Linked DNA regions of Homo sapiens: region 2 is linked to region 1. Evidence: promoter capture Hi-C in human tissues and cell types (Jung and others, 2019). All regions are on one chromosome and are shown on one strand. Each heading gives the region's core, a stretch centred on a gene start or on the middle of the fragment in contact. The rest is flanking DNA. Distances are from core to core; before and after follow the strand shown.

What was found. The method cuts DNA at HindIII sites, captures the fragments that hold promoters and counts their contacts. A contact is called where the count stands out against the background at its distance.
Region 2: a contact is called between a fragment that was not itself captured here and the fragment with the promoter of YEATS4 in region 1, in 1 of the 25 tissues and cell types used here (hippocampus).

Annotation. Positions count from the first base shown.
Region 1 is chr12:69,357,327-69,361,420 of GRCh38, forward strand. YEATS4 (YEATS domain containing 4) reads left to right here and starts at 2,417. Exons shown (of 7, transcript NM_006530.4): 1 at 2,417-2,697. The coding sequence starts at 2,647. RefSeq lists enhancers at 2,161-2,764, 2,322-2,511, 2,765-3,366 and a silencer at 2,792-2,951. The HindIII fragment of the contact is 10,052 bases long and covers 1-4,094 here.
Region 2 is chr12:69,524,718-69,528,811 of GRCh38, forward strand. All of the region lies in intron 1 of FRS2 (fibroblast growth factor receptor substrate 2), which reads left to right. Among named protein-coding and RNA genes, the nearest start is that of SNORA113, 11 kb to the left of the region's middle. RefSeq lists a silencer at 3,258-3,458. The HindIII fragment of the contact is 4,028 bases long and covers 416-4,094 here.

The DNA of each region.
Region 1 (4,094 bases), core at 1,167-3,666:
CGCCTCCTGGGTTCAAGCGATTCTCCTGCCTCAGCCTCCCGAGTAGTTGGGACTACAGGTACTCGCCACCACGCCTAGCTCATTTTTGTATTTTTAGTAGAGAGGGGGTTTCACCATGTCAGGAGATCGATCTCCTGACCTCGTAATCCGCCCGCCTTGGCCTCCCAAAGTGCTGGGATTACAGGCGCGAGCCACCGCGCCCAGCCTTTTTTTTTTTTTTTTTTTTTTTTTAATTAACTCTTCAAGGCCACATGATTCCAGTACAACCGCTTGCGGGGTTCCAAGCCACTTCTTGGCTATGTAAATGCAGCACATAGACTAGCCATGTGAGGGCAGCAGAGGGCCACTACATAGGTGCAACCTTTGGCTTCAAAATTCTTGGACCATTCTGACGTGATTAAACTAAAAACGAATGAGTTTATGCATATCGAGATACCCTGAGGTGTACAAAGGATGAGTCAAGGTAGCGGAGAGAGAGTTGAAGAGTGACAGCTGAGAAACAGAGATAGGACATGTCCAAGAAGTGCCAGGATAACCCAACAACACAGGCTGATTGAGGAAACTGCCAGAGATTAGACAAAGTAGACTGAAGAGGGAAAGCAATGTTTGTTGGAGATTTTGCTTTAGTTTTTGATAAATATTTCTTAGTCATACCAATTGTTTTAAATATAATTACGCCCCCAAACCAAATTTCTACTCTTATTCTGGCAACAGAATAAAAATCAATATCAATGTTTGATCATTTTCAAAGAAACTCAGTTCCTATCTTGGTTGAAATGCAGTGACATCCATATGACAATTGAGCTCTTCATGTGGCACTAATATAACTAAGCCCTGAGCACATCCCTTGCACTTCTATTTAGTGAAGTCTTTTAAAAAGTATTTTCTTTACAGTTGTTAAGTGGAATTACTAAAAATTACAATCAGCAGTATTTTCTACTCTTTTAGCTTATTTTTTAAAATATTTATCTCCATGCTTTTCAATATTACACCTATATTGCTTCTTCTTGATTTTTCCATTTTAAGATACTGACTTCCTACTATGGAAGTTAAAGATTAAGCTCTATTTCCTCCTCCTCCATCCCCATCAAGCATAGTACCCTTCTCCAAAGCCCATCCTTCTAAATGTAATTCTTTTTTTGAGGGGGAGGGGGGATCAATACTCAGTTTTTTTTTGTTTTGTTTTTTTTTTTTTTTTGAGACGGAGTCTTGCTCTGTCACCCAGGCTGGAGTGCAGTGGTGCGATCTCGGCTCAAGGCAAGCTCCGCCTCCCGGGTTCACGCCATTCTTCTGCCTCAGCCTCCCAAGCAGCTGGGACTACAGGCGCCCACCACCACGCTCGGCTAATTTTTTTGTATTTTTAGTAGAGACGGGTTTTCACCGTGTTAGCCAGGATGGTCTCGATCTCCTGACCTCGTGATCCGCCCACCTTGGCCTCCCAAAGTGCTGGGATTACAGGCGTGAGCCACCGCGCCCGGCCAATACTCAGTATTTATGTAACAATAAATACAATTACTTTCCTTTCTTGCACAAGATTTTGTTTTCCCTAGAATTAATAGCTGCATAATTCTTACAGCCGCTTAGTTTTCTGTGTACCTGTCATGAGTTAAACTCCAAACTCTCGGTCAAATCTCCTCTTGATTCAACGCCAGCTGGAATTTTGTCAATCCCATCCTTCTGAAGCAGTGTCTCCCAAAGATTTCTGACCGAATCTAATCTAGATGCGTTGCCGTCTATGCCTATACACAGCTATTGTTCCCGGAGCTCTTTCAGTATCATCTTGGGATCTTACTATTTTCTGTGTTTGTTATTTATTGTATTTCCTGCATTTCATAATTTCCTCCTTCTTGGCTTATTCCCTCATTTTGGTGGATCAGATCTACAGGATCTTCCTGGAGGTACTGAGAAAGGTAAGATAGGTACTATTTTTTGTGTGTAGTGATTTAGCACATCTGAAACTCTATTCTATTCACACACTAGATTGGTAGTTGGATGAGTATTGAAGACTAAATCGGAAGTAATTTTCCCTCAGAGTTTTGAAGACAGTGCCGTATGGCTTCCTAGATTCTAACTGAGCAATCTGAAGCCACTCTGATTCTATAGTCTGTATAACCTGGAAGGGTGTGGGATCTCTTTTTCCTCGATGTTCAGAAAATTCACAATGATATGCCTTGACGTGGATGCTTTAATATTTGTGCTGGGTGCTTAGTAGGATCTTTCAGTGTGGAAACTCATCTCCTTAACATCTGGACAACTTTTTGAAGTCATTTATTATTTCCTGCCTTTCATTTTTTTTTTGGTTTGGAACTCCTGCACTGGTCCTGTGATGTGACTGCAGCCGCCAGGCGCGTGCGCAGTGTACACTGCGTGCGCATACGCGAGCCCGTTGCGCCTGCGCGCGGTGCGGCCGTCGCCCCTCTTTTCGCGGCGTTCTCCACCTGCGCGGGCCTGAATGGCCTTCAGGAGCACAGTCGGCCTGAGGAGTTGACGGTTACTCACCGCCGTGAGCCCAAGTAACTCGCCCTCCTTCGGCTAGAAACCCTCCGCCTGGGCCCGCGCGACAGGAGCGCGGTCTCTGAGGGGAGCGGCGACCCCGCCAGCCCCGGTCTCTTTCCCTGGCGGCGGCGGCTTCTTCCGTGGGACAATATGTTCAAGAGAATGGCCGAATTTGGGCCTGACTCCGGCGGGAGAGTAAAGGTCAGTGCCCGGACCGCCCCTCTTCCGGGGTGGCTCTCCCGCCTCGGTTCCTCCCTGCGCGGCGCGGGGAGGGCCCACTGGGTTTCCTTTCGCGCCTTTTCTCCTCGGGTTTGAACCGTGGTTTCAGGTTGGAGAGCGAGTCAGAGCCATTGAGCGAAAAACCGGCGTTCATTGGGCCCCAACTTCCTCGCGTCACTGCCAACTCCCACCCCCGCCAAAAAACAAACAGATAAATGGTGGCTTGGGGAAACCCGGACGTGGCTGCCAAGGAAACGGGCGACTCCGAGGGCTGGGAAAGCTCAGCTTGGTGCACATTCGCTGCCAATCTAGGTTATTGGTGAAGCGGTGACGCCACCCTCCTGGTGTGAGGATAACAATAACTGTAGCAAACAGTCGCTGAGCGCTTACCCGCAGTATTTCCAAGTGCGGTAACTGAGACACCGAGGCATACGAAAGCTAAGAAAATTTGCTGGAGTTCATGGTGTTCACAAAGCCTCAAAGCAAGAGCATAACACTGTGCCTGGCACATGGGGAACATTCAGTAAATGTCAACTTCTTTTGTTTTTGATGAAATTACCATAGACCCTAGCGTAATGTTTGACATTGTAATATTTATTTCCCTCACACAGCCCCTGGCACGTTAATTTTTTTTTTTTTTTGAGACGAAGTGTCTGTCTTGTTGCCCAGGCTGGAGCGCAATGGCACGATCTCGGCTCACTGCAACCTCGGCCTCCCAAAGTGCTGGGATTACAGGCGTGAGCCACCGCGCCCAGCCGTGGTTCATTCTTTTTAAAGAAAAATTTCCTTTCCTTTATAAATAAAAATCAGAAGGGGTACAAATAGTTGTTTTTATCAGGAGCCAGTGGGTCCTGCCTTAAAAATTAACGTGCAGGGCCGGGCAAGGTGGCTCACGCCTGTAATCCCAGCACTTTGGAAGGCCGAGGAGGGTGGATCACCTGAGATCAGAAGTTCAAGACCAGGCTGGTCAACATGGTGAAACCCCGTCTCTACTAAATATACAAAAATTAGCCGGGCGTGGTGGCGGGCACCTGTAATCCCAGCTACTAGAGGGGCTGAGGCAGGAAAATCGCTTGAACCCGAGAGGCGGAAGTTGCAGTGAGCTGAGATCGTGCCACTGCACTCTAGCCTGGGCGACAGAGCAAGACAATGTTTCTTTAAAAAAAAAATAGCAATAATTAGTAGGTTTTAAAATACTTATGTGTGTGTGTGTGTGTGTGTGTGTGTGTTTTGTTTTGTTTTTTTTTGAGACGGAGTTTTGCTCTTGTTGCCCAGGCTGGAGTGCACTAGCGCAATCTCGGCTCTCCGCAACCTCCACCTCCTGGATTCAAGCGATTCTCCTGCCTCCAAGCGATTCTCCTGCCTCAGCCTCCTGAATA
Region 2 (4,094 bases), core at 1,180-3,679, 170 kb after region 1:
ACTACAGAGGCTGCAGCACCAAACCCTCTAGACTTGGCACAGGCTGGAGTTCTGCTACTACCACTTCTCTAAGTAGCTGTCCCTGCCAACTCAAGTGTCCATGGTGGCAGAGGGGTCTCTTCCTACTGGGATTCCAGAGGCCCCTGGTGAGAGCAGGTTGCTCCTTGCCTGTTCAACTCACCCCTTCTGCAGGAATCACTGGGGGCCAGGAACTAGTCCTGGGTGCCTGGTAGCCCTGTGTAGGGTTCCCAGCTTCCTCCCGCTTCAGCTATGCCCTGTATCTTTCTTCCCTCTGATCTTAATGCCTTCCCTCTGAAGGTTTGCTAGGAGTGCACGAGTCTTCCTGATGTCCCAGTCCCTTGGTGGGAGCTGTTTCTCCTGGCTTCATGTAGTCAGCCATCTTGGAGAGTCCTCCACTCTGGAAGTTTTTACCTTGATGCTCTAAATCAAATCACAATGTTAAGATGTAATATTGTTTTTTTTTTTTTTACTAAAAAAATGCATTTTATGTCATGGCCTAGAATGTGTGTAGCATGTTTTTATACAAACCACAAGTATTTAAATATGCATTATTCATACTGTTTGTGAGTATTCAAGAGGAAGGAAGGAAAGGAGAGAAAGATGAGACAAACATTGACTATAGAGAGACTGTGTGTATGATAAAGTTTCAAGAAACAATACATATCTATGTGCTCTGTGATCTGCATTTCCTTAAAATACAAAACAAAACAAGTAAATGCCACAGGTGATAACCCCCAACATTGATTTCAAAACCATGCAGACCTTCCCATTATCTTTATATGTTCCTAATTCTAGGTCTGCACACGGAGTCTTTGTTACTGAGAAAGGAACACTAAAATCCTAAGGCTTAAAAAAAATAAAGTTGTATTGTTTATAATTGGTATCTTGAGAACGCGTGTCCTCTCTTTCCTCTCCTTTCCTTTCCTTCATCTTTATTAACCATCAGTGCAATGGAGACTGTGAGGGAGATTATTTTTTTTTTTTAGCACCATAAACTCAACCAAGTGGTATGTGTTTTTTTAAAAGAATGTTGGTTTTTGCTGATAATTTCCAGATCACAAATATTTAGAAGACTAGCATATGTATTTAGTACTTTGGGAAACTTTATTTATTTTGATTTTAATTTCATTTTTTGAGATGGAGTTTTGCTCTTGTTGCCCAGGCTAGAGTGCAGTGGTGTAATCTTGACTCACTGCAACTTCCTTCCGCCCCCTGGGTTCAAGCGATTCTCCTGCCTCAGCCTCCCAAGTAGCTAGGATTACAGGCATGCACCACCACACCCGGCTAATTTTGTGTTTTTAGTAGAGACGGGTTTCACCATGTTTATCAGCTGGTCTTCAACTCCTGACCTCAGGTGATCTGCTGACCTCGGCCTCCCAAAGTGCTGGGATTACAGGTGTGAGCCATGGTGCCTGGCCCATCCTTTGGGAAACTTTAAATTGATCAGTCTGTTTCTCTGTGTAAATCTAAGTTGTACTGATGTTTACATGGCATGTTTTTTAATCATGGGGATAATTTGTTCTAAGGAATTTTCACTTTTTCCAACTAACTTAGGACATTAGTATAATAAGGCTACATTTCCTGGGTAATGTGTCCTGAGAAGGAATTACTTTGATTTTCATTTGAAAATACAGTGGGTATATTACTTTTGCTATGTGATAGGCAGTAGTTCAATCTAATAATAACCAATTAAGCTTACGATTCAGAAAGAAAATATTCCTACACAATATTTTTTCATTAATGACACTTATAAAATCAGATGCTATTGAGTATGAAGAAATAAAGCCAATTAGTGTTATCTGATAATGTCAAGAATGTGTTCCACATGAGAGGATTTTTTAGAAAAAGAAAATTAGGAAAATTAATAGAACTAATAATTTCATTATAAATTCTAAAAATTACTTTAAAGATAATTTAACATATACATGTGTATGTATGTAGATAGATGAGAGAGAAAAATATTTCAGATAGTCAGAAAAGTGTAGAAACTTTTTTTTTTTTTTGAGACAGAGTGTCACTCCGTCACCCAGGCTAGAGTGCAGTGGCACGATCTCGGCTCACTGCAATCTCCGCCTCCCAGGTTCAAGTGATTCTCCTGCCTCAGCCTCCTGAGTAGATGGGACTACAGGCGCGTGCCACCACGCCTGGCTAATTTTTTGTATTTTTAGTAGAGACAGGGTTTCACCATGTTATCCAGGATGGTCTCGATCTCCTGACCTCGTGATCCACCCGCCTTGGCCTCCCAAAGTGCTAGGATTACAGGCCTGAGCCACCGCGTCCAGCCAGTGCAGAAACTTTTGATGAACACCTGTGTGGCCACCCCATTGAACCCTGACATTTTTTCCCTGACTTTTCTAAGTGTATGGAATAACAATCAGTCATTTAAAGGTGATTTGAAAACCAATTATTGTGCTTTGCTCTGGCCAGCTTATTTTTACTCAATTCTTTTAGACCTAAGCATGGCACATTCTTTGGATTCACCCCTTAATGCCCTTAATAATCCCCTAATGCCACAGGTTTACTCTTAATGTATAGCAGTGAATCTTTCTTCATTTGTCCTCTTGTCTGAAGCAAGAATGGAGCAAAGTTTTTTTTTTTTTAATGATTTTTTTTTTTTTTTTTTTTTAAAGAGACAAGGTCTAGGTACATCGTCCAAGCTGGACTCTAACTCGTGGGCTCAAAGAATCCTCCTGCCTCAGCCTCCCAAGTAACTGGGATTCTTGTTGCGGGTCACCATGCCTGGCTTTAAGCAAATTTTTACATAAACAGCCTGGATTTACATGTTATTCCTATGGCACAAATATGGGATTTGTCGTTAATAACTGTATTCCAGTTTACTGCAGATTATAATAGTGAACAAGACAAACTGGGATTTGGAATCCTGAGGCTATCTCTGATTTAGACAAGTTAGTAACCACCGTGTGCTTTAACCTTTTTGATTGGGAAATTCTGAGAATTAACTAATGTAAATATGGGGCACATAGAAGTTGCTCAATAAAAGTTTTTAATATTACTAGCTTTCTTTCAAGTGGTTGAACTTGCTAAAATTCTGATTTCTAAATGAGTGGGAGCATTTCGGTACAAAAATATTCAAGGGTTCTCTCCAACTTTCCAAACAAAGCAGATTTGAACATTAAATTTCATCATCCAACTTTTGGAACCCCTGCTAATTGTTTTCTTTGTACTCTTGGTTTATTTTTATACCTAAGGTCTGATAGACACATAACAAATGCTTTATGTACCTTAAAGTAAGTGAAAATAGATTGTTCAGATGAAAGGTATGTGGATAAGTCAGTTTTGCAGCAATTCTAGAGAACTCTTGCCAGAACTGTATCTTTGTTTTGGTTTTCAGGGACTGTTAAATGTGATCACTGAGTCAGACTTGCTGTTTTCTCTGTCCCCTGGCTATCTCTCTTAAGACCCTGAAGTTTGCCAGCCATAGAATGTTTAAAAGGCAGAGGAGGGCTTAGCCTAGGGGGAGTTTGTTTATTTAAAGAAAAAATAATTAAGTTTAAACATCCTACCATGTCATAGCTAGTTTAGTCATGTTAAGAGTTAGTGAGTTCTTTTGATTGTTTCCTGGTGGTCTTGATATCTAAAGGTAACAGATAAATTTGAAGCAGTTAAACTTCCTGAGATTACCTGGAACCTTATAATATAATCCCAAACAGAAATCCCTAACAAAGTGGGAGGAAAGGGAATGCCATTTTTTTGCTGGTTTTTGTTTTTTGATGGGACTCTTTTAATTCAAATCTTCTACCACTCTGTTCTAGAGTTATGGTACAGATGATTTAAAAACAAAACAACAGTTTAAGAAAACCACACTTTGATAGATACATCTTCATTATTTCTTTGAAGTCGGGAACTTAAGAATCTTTTAAAAGGAACAGTGTAGCTCTACAGATGTTTAGACACAAAGAAAGATCTAAAAATTGATGATGTTATGTTTGAAGATTACCATCTCCCAAATTTATAATTTACTATTCTTTACAAATTCTTTGCCAGATAAGGAAAACTAAGACAGCTATTTTGGGCTTGCTCAGGACACTAGGGCAGATTTCTTTGATGAGATG